2 separate regions of the Homo sapiens genome follow, and region 1 is linked to region 2. The links are contacts of gene promoters, found by promoter capture Hi-C in human tissues and cell types (Jung and others, 2019). All regions are on one chromosome and are shown on one strand. Each heading gives the region's core, a stretch centred on a gene start or on the middle of the fragment in contact. The rest is flanking DNA. Distances are from core to core; before and after follow the strand shown.

Region 1 (5,907 bases), core at 973-3,472, 710 kb after region 2:
AGACCAGCCTGGGCAACAATGATACTTCGTCTCTACTAACAGTAAAATAACTTAAGCCTGGTGTGGTGGTACACGCCTGTAGTCCCAGCTACCCAGGTGACTGAGGCAGAGGATTGCTTGAGCCTGGGAGGTCGAGGCTGCTGTGAGCCGTGATCATACCCACTGCACTCCAGCTTGGGTAACAGAGTGAGACTCTGTCTCAAAAAAAAAAAAAAATCTATTGAATGAATAAATGAAATAGCCTGGCACTCTTGAACCTTAGATTGTAATGATATTTATTCTTACTGATAGAGCTAGTAAACTCCTCGAGGGAGCCTCTGCCCCTTATTGTCCAGTAGAACAGATTCTCTGGGTGAATGAGCCCAAAGGTCAAACAGATCAAGCATTTTCAAGAAAAGATAACCCAATAACCTGAATCATAGCAGGAACCACGAGGTACTTCACTTATATTATCTCATTTAATCTTCATGGTAATCTTGCCAGGAGGGTAATCATTTGAAGCAAGAACAGGTTTAAGATTTCTTAAAAGACACAGATGTAAGTCTTTAATACAGATTGGGAAGAGGATTACTTTTTCTGTCTCAGGTTCTTCAGGATAAAGGATAAAGATTTGGAGATCGTTTAAAAGCTTTTATATAAATGCTCATTCACTGAGTTCAAATACTTTTAAAATGTCCTGGCAGTTGAAAGTTAAATAAGAAGCAAAAAATTATTCTTCTGCCTAGAATTTTTAAGGTTATCTTCTTTAGGTAGGATTTTATTGTTTGCTATGATGTGCCGCTTTTCTTGAAATACTACAAACCAGTGTTTTCAGCTGGGTGCGGTGGCTCACACCTGTAATTTCAGCACTTTGGGAGGCTAAGGCAAGCGGATCACTTGAGGTCAGGAGTTCAAGACCAGCCTGGCTGACATGGTGAAACCCCATCTCTACTAAAAATGTAAAAATTAGCTGGGCATGGTGGCATGTGCCTGTAATCCCAGGTACTTGGGAGGCTAAGGCAAGAGAATCACTTCAACCCGGGAGGTGGAGGTTGCAGTGAGCCAAGATTACACCACTGCACTCCAGCCTGAGCAACAGAGTGAGACTCTGTCTCAGAAAAAAACAAAAAACAAACAAAAAAAACGAGCGTTTTCAAAATGCAGGTACCAAGCCAGTGAGGTCATGAAATGCATTTAGTGCATTAAAAAAAAAAAAAAAAGACAAAAGAAAATAGCATATTAAATGTCTGCCAAGGCTGGGCACAGTGGCTCACACCTGTAATCCCAGCACTTTGGGAGGCCGAGGCGGGCAGATCACCTGAGGTCAGGAGTTCAAGACCAGCCTGGCCAACATGGTGAAACCCTGTCTCTACTAAAAATACAAAAATTAGCCGGGTGTGGTGGCACGCGCCTGTAGTCCCAGCTACTCGGGAGGCTGAGGCAGGAGAATCACTTGAACCTGGGAGGCAGAGGTTGCAGTGAGCCAAGATCATGCCACTGTACTCCAGCCTGGGCGACAGAGCAAGACTTTGTTTCCGAAAAAAAAAAAACAAAAATGTCTGTCGGGCACAGTGGCCCACACCTGTAATCCCAGCACTTTGGGAGGCGGAGGTGGGTGGGAGGATTGCTTGAGCCTAGGAGTTCAAGACCAGCCTAGGCAACATGGCGTAACCTCGTCTCCACAAAAATAAAAAAAATTAGCCAGGTGTGGTGGCACGTGCCTGTAGTCCCAGCTACTCCAGAGGCTGAGGTTGGAGGATCACCTGAGCCTGGGAAGTTGAGGCTGCAGTGAGCCATGATTGCACCTGGGCAGCAGAGTAAGACTCTGTCTTAAAAAAAAAAAAAAGAGTTTTGTGTTGCATATATAGATTTATATTATGTAACTGTATTCTATATATACACATACACGACTTGAGAGATAGGTTGTATTCTTTTTATAGGTTATGGGGTCTTTTGTTTGTTTGTTTTTTTGAGACGGAGTCTTGCTTTGTCACCCAGGCTGGAATGCAGTGGTGCGATCTCAGCTCACTTGCAAGCTCTGCCTCCCGGGTTCATGCCATTCTCCTGCCTCAGCCTCCCGAGTAACTGGTACTACAGGCGTGTGCCACCACGCCTGGCTAAGTTTTTGTATTTTTAGTAGAGACGGGATTTTACCGTATTAGCCAGGATGGTCTTGATCTCCTGACCTTGTGATCCACCCGCCTCAACCTCCCAAAGTGCTGGGATTACAGGCATGAGCGACCACGCCCGGCCTAGGTTATGTTTTAAAAATGTTAGAAAAACGTTTTGTGAATAAATGATGCCTTGCACTTTATGGGGCTCAGAAGTGTTTGTTGAATTGGATAAAGAGCTGTCTTTGTGTCATTACAACGCTGTAGCAATAAGGAACTATGCATGCTGAGCCAACTCCTGTGAAATGTCTTGTCAAGTGAGAACCTATTTGTGCTGCAGAGACTTTTCCCTTCTGTAGTTGGTAATAATAATGAAAGTTTGCTTTTACAAAGTAACTATTACAAAGTTGCATTATTATTGCTAAACAGTGAAAGAGGCTGATTTGGAGGACGGAATAATGGCAGGAAACATTTAGGAATGTGAATGCGTAACAGGGCTATGTTGCCAGGGATTTGTAGCTCTGACAATTGGGAGTTCTCTCTGGGAGAGATCCCAGTGGTCCATGACATGTAGTAATTTGAAATTTGCTGAGGCGCAAATTCAAGTACATCCTAGGAGGCTTGTGGGGAGGGAGACAGTCATTGAGCTAGTGAGCAAGCCACGCCCCCTGCTCCATGTATGTGTTTAAACATGGCATGCATGCTATTTTTTTCTGTTCTTTGTCTTCACAGAGTAATTCCCTTCAGGTAATAGAAACTCTTTTCATCTGAAGAATGATGATGAAGTGAAAGGTGAAGCTTGAGTGAAATGTGTGTTGCAAACATAAGCCAAGGAAAATATAGGCTCTTGATAAAGGTGTGAGTTCCCCAGAAAGCCAGAGCCACTGTAGGACTTCATGTATCGTACAAGTGGGCGATTCCTGGTGCTCTCTTGTTGGTAGCTCTACAGGCTGTCAGGGATCAAGGCAATATTATTTGCTGCTTTTTTTTTAAGAACCTGTAGGGGTGAGCATTGATTTGAGGCAATATATAATGATTGATTATATAGCCTGTGGAAGATAGAAACTTAGTGTGTAGAAATCGTTTAAAAAGAGGAAAAACTATATTGTATATGTGGGGATTTGTTTGTTTGCTACTAATTCCAGTGCTTTTTGTTTTTGTTTTCTATTTATTTCTTTTGAGACCAGGTTATAAGACTGGCTAATTTTTGTATTTCTGGTAGAGACAGGATTTTGCCCAGGCTGGTCTCGAACTCCTGGGCTCAAGCTATCCATCCACCTTAGCTTCCCAAAGTGCTGGGAATGCAGATGTGAGCCACCATGCCCAGCCTTCCGGTACTTTTTCATCAATTGCTTTAGGAGTGACTTTGTAAAGTTCTCTGATATTATCTGAGTAGTCAAGTTCTTTAGGATTGTGTCATCAGTCTCAAGTTTGCCCAGAGCTGGGGCTTTTCCACAAATCTTGGGGGTAAGAGAGAGAGATGAAGAGTTGGAGCCAGGACAAGGATCGTCAGTGGGAAAATCAGGACCAGATTCTGCTTCTACCTTCATGTGTAGATGCTGACTCTTTTGAAAGAACTACAATAAAGTCACCTGTGGATTGACCCACATGCCTTAGCTCTGAAACACGCAAACTGGCTAACTGGGGAATCCACTCCCATGCCATTCTCTAATATTTGTTCATCTAAACTTAGCATCCTGTAATGTGCTTGTGAGTCATAATTGCAATTGTAGAAAGAGAAAGAGGCCTGGCACAGTGGGTCACGCCTGTAATAGCACTTTGGGAGGCCGAGCGGGTGGATCACTTGAGGTTAGCAGTTTGAGACCAGCCTGGCCAACATGGTGAAACCCCATCTCTGCTAAAAATACAAAAATTAGCTGGGTGTGGTGGTGAGCACCAGTAATCCGAGCTACTCGGGAGTCTGAAACAGAAGAATTGATTGTGCCGGGTGCCGTGGCTCACACCTGTAATCCCAGCACTTTGGGAGGCCAAGGCGGGCGGATCATGAGGTCAGGAGATCGAGACCATCCTGGCTAACACAGTGAAACCTCGTCTCTACTAAAAATACAAAAAATTAGCCGGGCGTGGTGGCAGGCGTCTGTAGTCCCAGCTACTCGCGAGGCTGAGGCAGGAGAATGGCGTGAACCCGGAAGGCGGAGCTTGCAGTGAGCTGAGATGGCGCCACTGTACTCCAGCCTGGGCAACAGAGTGAGACTCCATCTCAAAAAAAAAAAAAAAAGAAGAAGAATAGATTGAACCTGGGAGGCAGAGGTTGTAGTGAGCCAAGATTGTGCCACTGCACTCCAGCCTGGGCGACAGAGTTAAGCCTCTGTCTCAAAGAAAGAAAGAGAAAGAAAAGAGGAGAGAGGAATGTCAACTTAATTAATTGTTTAAAAAGAGGAAAAACTGTGTTGTATGTGTGTGGATTTGTCTGTTTGCTTATTAATTCCAGTGCTTTTTTTTGTTTTCTATTTATGTCATTTAATTATTAATTAATGTCATTTAATTTTAAATGAGAAATTATGCCTCATGTAAAAGTTTTTTTGTAAAAGGCTAGGCTGAGATTCATTCATTGCCTCACCATGGATGCCACCATGAGTCTAACTCTGCTGTCTCAGCTCTGCAAACACAGATGATAGATGGGCATCTCATCTGAACATCATTAGGTCCAGGGAACACTTGTCCATGCCACCCTGACTGACTTTAATCCAGTGGGTGTTTGTTGAGTGTCTGCTACCTGCAACACCAGCCAGGTGGCTTGATATGGTAAAGACGCAAGAAATGTTAGCTTAACATATTGATGCAAGCTACTGTAGTTGGCCCTGGGGAGAAGGGAAGTATAAAAATGAACAAAGTGTAGTCTTCATCTCCTTGAGGCTTACAATCCAGGGACAGACAGGACAAGTAATTATTAGTCAAGCTGACCATACTGTGTGTTATCAAGGAGGAAGGAAGTTCTATGGAAGTACAGAGGAAACAGGAGGGTGGGAAAAGTGGGAAGGCAGGGGAGGTGTCCATAGGAAAGGAACACCAGGCAACAGGAAGAACACAGGCAGAGCTGGGTGGACACCAATTGAGAAACTTGGGAATAACACCGCATGGCAAGAGTGGAGAGTGGTCTGGAGCAGCATGGAGGAGGCGTGGTGGAAGATGGGGCTGGAGATGCCAGTCATTCTGAGGGTGCTTGGGGACCTGTCAGATGGTTTAGAGCAGGGAGTGAGGCATCAGATTTGTGTTTTAGAAGAAGGTGAAGAGAATGGATTGGAGTAGGGGAAGTGCCATTGGGAGGCTATTGTAATGTTTCACTGGATAAATGACAGGGCTTGACTGAGAGCAGTGGAAATGAAATTGAGGTTACTCAAGAATGATTTGTCTTCGAAAGCCAATCTGTGAATTTATAATGGGCATGAACTTACCAACCACTGGAATGATTAGGTCAGCTGGCCGGAACACTACTTTTAAAAGTGAAGTCCATTAATAATCAAAAGATTACTGGCTGAAAGTGAAGTGAAGGCAAAAGGAGTTGGATGGTCTGAGAGGACCTTTTACCCCATCGATAGTAGTTTTTACATAGCAGTAATACTAAAGCTTAATCTTTGGTGGGTTGTTGTTCTCTCTGGAGAGATACTTGGCCTGCCACAAAAGGAGGAGCTGCTTCTCTGGCCAGCACTGGACAGAAGCTGGCCAGCATATTCCAGGATCTTTGGTTTGCAAGAAAGTGAGCTTGCTCAGATTAGCAGGTAGAATGAGGAATAATCGTAAGGAAAGGAAATATTCCAACTCCAAAGCTAGAAAGCCAGCCAGGCCTCAGGGGACT
Region 2 (5,649 bases), core at 2,280-4,779:
TCTATAAAATGGAGAGAATCCTAATGCCTACCTCATAGGACTATATTAGGAGGTTTAAATGAGATATGATCTCTAAGCCACTTAGAAGAGTACCTGACAGTGTTATGTAACTGTTAGCTAGTATTCTAAGCCCTTGAGGGAAGGGGAAGCCGGAAGGAGAAGATGTTTGGGACCATGGAGGTCATGATCTCAATAACTGGCATAGACTAGAACTCTGCTACAATTATCAGAGGCTTTCAGTGTTAAGTTCCAGGGGAAGAAACTCTGATTTGATTACCATGACATCCCCAACAGCTGTGGGAATAGCCTGTGCAGATGGAGTATGGCCATAGCAAATAGGTGCTGAATGAATTCATAAATTGCTGTGTCAGTCATTTCCCGAAGGAGCCCCAGAATTGAACGGCCAGAAGAATCTGTGAGGAAGCAAAGGGAGATCCACTTCTCTATCCACGTCTGGTCCCAAAGAGAAATGAGGTGGTAGGCAGAGGGCAAGGACTCGTCAGAGGAAACAGTCTCAGAGTCCAGGGATGAGGAGGGGGTGCCCAGGATTGTGTGGACTGTCACATCACCCCCAGGTGGACCCTCCCAGCTGTACCCAGCTGGGAATTCCTGGGTTCTTGGGACCCAGCCCAGAAAACTGCCTTTTCTGGGATTCATCCTGTTCATTCCCTTGATGGTTAGACAGTGGATTAAAGGGAGCAGGAATTGTTTCTGGGTCGCCCCTATATTCCAGTGTCCAACACCACAGCTGGGGTTCAATCCAGTTCTGTGGAATAAGTGCCCCCAAAGACTTCTATGCTTTTCATCCTTCTGAACCCAACTCAAATGTCCTTTTCTCTCTGAAGCCTTCCCAGCCACCCCAGCCAGTGTACTTGGCATCTATGTCTATTGTTTTGTGATCCATATTAGCTGTGGATGAATAACATCATTGCACCCTCAGCATTCCATATAATGCCAGGCACATAGTAGGTGTTCAATCAATGCAAATGAATAACTTAATGCTCCCTTAGTAACAGCAACCAATTTATTCAGTTATTCCTCTTGTTGGCACTTCAAGAGACACAGAAGAAGCTAAGATCATCATCTATGTATCAATCAGACACCACTGAGGGGTCCCTCCCTCCAGTTTCATCCCGGTGCACTTGCCAGAGCACTCACAGACTCCCCATCCACACTGGTCTGCCCTCCTACTGGCCTTCCACCCCATCTTTGAGGCATGAGAAGACCAACAGCCCGGTAAAGCCACGGGGCTTCCAGATCAGCTGGAGGGGGTTGTGCCGATGTGTGTACATACAGAGGGCTCAGGGCCTTTGGGGGTTTCTCTGCCCTTCAATTCCGTGCAGAACACCTCACTCAGTGGGAAAGTGAGCCAAGCTTTCGGTGCCAACTAGGAAGTGATGAGGATGCGGCGACCCCATTGACCCACCCAGCACCGATCCCCAACGCATGGTCTCCAGCCTGAGCTGACATCCCATCTACCCCGGTTTCTCCAGCACCCAAGCCTACCTCCTCGTCAGGTGACCTCCCCGGAGCACCGACTGGGGTCGCAGGCGCTCTGTCCCGCCGCCTCCGGAGCCTGCCTTTGGGGAGTGGGGGTGGTCGCAACCACCAGCCGCGAGGAGAGGATTGCACCTCTCCCCCCCGGCCGGCATCCGAACAGAGCCAGTCTCCACCCCTGCAGTGGCGAAGTGTTTACAAAGTCCGCGCCGCGCCGCCGATCCAGAGCTGGGCAGGAAGTGGGGAAGAGGGGGCGGAGGAGACAAAGGGGCTGGTGCTCTGCTCAGCCAAGTTTCGGTCCCCGGCCTGACTCTCCCACCCCCTGTACACCCTCGGCGAGGCCAGGAGGCTCATCCGGCGCCGCGCACCCCCGCCCGCAGCCCCCGCCCCACGCGGCATAGGTGCGGGGGCGGGGCGCCACGGAGGCTCAGGTGTGGGCGGCGGGGCCGGGGCAGCACGGGTTCCCGGACCGCTGCCTCCCGGCGTTGGCAACTCCTCCACGTGCTATCCAGGAAGTAAACAACATCATGAGGAGCGACTTCTTTTTCTTTTTCTTTTTTTTGAGATGGAGTCTCCCTCTGTCGCCCAGGCTGGAGTGCAGTGGCGCGATCTCGGCTCACTGCAACCTCCGCCTCCCGGATTCAAGCTATTCTCCTGCCTCAGCCTCCCGAGTAGCTAGGACTACAGGCGCACGCCGCCACGCCCGGCTAATTTTGTGTATTTTTAGTAGACACGGGGTTTCACCATGTTGGTCAGGCTGGTCTCGAACTCCTGACCTGAGGTGATCCACCCGCCTCGGCCTCTCAAAGTGCTGGGATTACAGGCGAGAGCCACCGCGCCCGGCCGATTTCTTGACTCTTACTACACGTCAGGCACTGTGACAGACTCTTTCTGTGTATCATCTCATCTTTCCCCCAGCTTTACAGAAGAGGAAACTGAGACACACTGAGGATTAAGGTCAAGTGCCCGAAGTACCATAGCTGGCTAGTGTTAGGATCCAAGCCCAGAATCTGCGTCCTGCCAGGCACCTGCAAATGGGGACGAACACGGCGCAGCTAGAGGGGCTGACAGGCTAGGGAGAAAACCACTGGTAGCCGCGGGCACCCCACGCCCTGGGAGTGAGGCGGCAAGGGACAAGTCTCCCGCCCCCTAGACTTGCCTCGCAAATACTTGCGGGTCGAGGGCGCGAAGGCAGCAGGATGCAGCGATAGACTTGGACTAGGTGGTCCAGGCTCTACTTCCAAGTGGGCCATTGACAGGCGGGGCGGCCCTCAGCACAAAATCACCAGGCTGGATGCTCCAGGGTTTCCCAACATTACTCGCTCAGAAGAATCATCTGGGGAGCTCCTTAATGAGAAAGATTCCCAAGCCCCTCTTCCAGAGAGTGAAGTCACTGGGATTGGGCTGGGCCCAGCCAGGTGTTACTAATAATAAGACAAGTTTGGAAAACCCTGCGAGTGTAGATGATCTCCTGGTATGCTCTTTATAAGAACCGATTTTCATATTAAAATAGGTTTCTTTTAACTCAGTGAAACCGGGCGCGTTTTCCTGGCCCACAACCAAGCCACTGAAGGCCCCAGAACACTTCACTCTCAAAAGGTCACGTGAGGCTGGCGCGGTAGCTCACGCCTGTAATCCCAGCACCTTGTGAGGCCGAGGCCGCGGACTGCTTGAGCTTAGGTGTTCGAGACCAGCCTGGCCAACATGGCGAAACTCGGTCTCTACTAAAAATACAAAAACTAGCGGGGCGTGGTGGTGCCCGCCTGTAATCCCAGCTACTCCGGAGGCTGAGGCGGGAGGATCGCTTGAGCCTGGGAGGTGGAGGTTGCAGTGAACCGAGATCGCGCCATTGCACTCTAGCCTGTGAAACGGAGCAAGACTCTGTATCCAAAAAAAAAAAAAAAAAGTCACGTGAGCCGGGGTCACCGGAGGCGTCCCCCAACCGACTGGGCTTCGGAAAACCAAGGGGCGCACGCCGCCCCGCCCCGCCCCGCCCCGCGACTACAAGTCCCATCGCGCCCCGCGCTCGCGCACACTACGCCAGAACAAGATGGCCGACGCGGCGGCCACAGCTGGGGCCGGTGGCTCCGGAACGGTAAGGGCAGGAAGCGCGGGCTCGGAGCCGAGAGAGTTTGGGTATCCTGCAACTTTCCCCTCGACTGAGCAACAAGATAATGCCCAGAAATTCAGCCCCATCATGAGCTCCGACTGGCGGAGGGTGTTTTCAGGCCGTAGGCGCCCCCTCCTTGGGACTTGGCTGCGGCCTCCGGAGTTGGCGGACCTGTGTCTTGATTGGCTCGTTCGCTGTTGGGGGTTGGGAGCCCGGAACACCCCCGATTGGTCTGAAGATGCCGTTTTCGCCTTCTTATTGGCCGGCCAAAGTTGAAAGGCATTCCCGTTTCAAAATATTTAGCTTTCTTACTTTTTTGTGCTTTTATCTTTTGCCCTCCTCTCCTCGCGGTCACCTCTTGTTACTGTTTTCATTTTCCCTTTCAATGAAATGGTGTGAAGATGGGAGGCACAAGAGAGGGATCCTGTTTTTTCTGCGGGACACGTCTTAATCCCATCATGCGTGTTTCTTCAGCTATGTATTCTAATAATCTGCTAAAGTAGAAAGTAAAAGACCTGCTATTTTATCTCATTGGGACTGTACGTTTTAGGTAAGCGGAGAAGTGGTCTCTGTATTTAAAGCACCTTGGGTGCTCAATTTTTACTCAGTTGGCCAAGATCTGTAAATCTAAACATTAAGCACTGATTTTTAAAATAAAATTATTTAGTAAAATAACTTTGCTTGCCGTTGACCACGTATGAACTATGTGATTGCATCCTTCTCCTGTGGATGAAAATCTCTCTGCTGATTCACAGAGATCGGGAAGTAAACAGTCCACTAACCCTGCCGATAACTATCATCTGGCCCGGAGGAGAACCCTGCAGGTGGTTGTGAGCTCCTTGCTGACAGAGGCAGGGTTTGAGAGTGCCGAGAAAGCATCCGTGGAAACGCTGACAGAGATGCTGCAGAGCTGTGAGTACATGGAAACACTTGGCCTTGGAGTCAACCCCAACATCAGTTCTGTGCCCTGCTTTGTGATAGTGTTTGAGAGGATTTAAGAAACAAACTTTTTTCTTAAGAGGGGAGAAAAAAAATTTTTTTTAATGTAAAAAGTTGAGAAAAGAAAACAGCACAATGGGCCGAGCGTGGTGGCTCACGCCTGTAATCCCAGTACTTTAGGAGGCTGAGGCGGGTGGATCACCTGAAGTCAGGAGTTCAAGACCAGCCTGGCCAACGTGGCGAAACCCCGTCTCTACTAAAAAACACACAAAAAAATTAGCTGGGCGTGGTGGCAGGTGTCTATAATCCCAGCCACTCGGGAGACTGAGGCAGGAGAATCGCTTGAATCTGGGAGGCAGAGGTTACAGTGAACTGAGATCGCACCACTGCACTCCAGCCTGTGAGGCTCCATCTCCAACAACAACAACAAAAACAGAAAAGAGCATAATGAAGTGACTTACAGGCTTTAGAATCAGATAGACTTGGTGTACATCATCACTCTGTCACTTAATAGCTTGGGCAAGCCACTGAATCTCCTGAACCTCAATTTCCTCATTTCTGAAATGGGATAACAGTTTCTACCTCATGGATTTGTGAGTGTAAGTGAGATGTATATATAAAACATTCAGTGCTGGGGAGATTTTAAGCTCTTGGTGAGTTATGGGTGCCCTTAAGGACTTTTGTTGGGGAGTCAGGACTAATTCCCCATGCAATAGATATCATCACATTATGTAATGAAATGCTAGATTGTGTGATACAAAGAATGAAGGGGAAAAGCCCCCCCCCCCTTTTTTTTTTTGAGACAGAGTCTCACTGTGTTGCCCAGGCTGGGGTGCAGTGGCACAATCTCAGCTCACTGCAGCCTCCGCCTCCCAGGTTCAAGCAATTCTCCTGCCACAGCCTCCCAAGTAGCTGGGATCATAGGCGTGCACCACCACGCCTGGCTAATTTTTGTATTTTTAGTAGAGACAGGGTTTCACCATGTTGGCCAGGCTGGTCTTGAACTCCTGACCTCAGGTGATCCACCCACCTTGGCCTCTCAAAGTGCTGGGATTACAGGCATGAGCCACTACACCCAGCTGAAAAGCTACTTTTAAAAGGAA

What was found. The method cuts DNA at HindIII sites, captures the fragments that hold promoters and counts their contacts. A contact is called where the count stands out against the background at its distance.
Region 1: a contact is called between a fragment that was not itself captured here and the fragment with the promoter of TAF8 in region 2, in 1 of the 25 tissues and cell types used here (dorsolateral prefrontal cortex).

What each region holds. Positions count from the first base shown.
Region 1 is chr6:42,762,727-42,768,633 of GRCh38, forward strand. It overlaps a transcript of BICRAL not described here. Among named protein-coding and RNA genes, the nearest start is that of BICRAL, 16 kb to the right of the region's middle. The HindIII fragment of the contact is 4,121 bases long and covers 163-4,283 here.
Region 2 is chr6:42,046,995-42,052,643 of GRCh38, forward strand. TAF8 (TATA-box binding protein associated factor 8) reads left to right here and starts at 3,530. Exons shown (of 9, transcript NM_138572.3): 1 at 3,530-3,592; 2 at 4,363-4,519. The coding sequence starts at 3,548. It also overlaps a transcript of CCND3 not described here. RefSeq lists enhancers at 1,347-1,396, 3,153-3,704, 3,486-4,035, 3,705-4,256 and a silencer at 1,767-2,016. The HindIII fragment of the contact is 17,019 bases long and covers 1-5,649 here.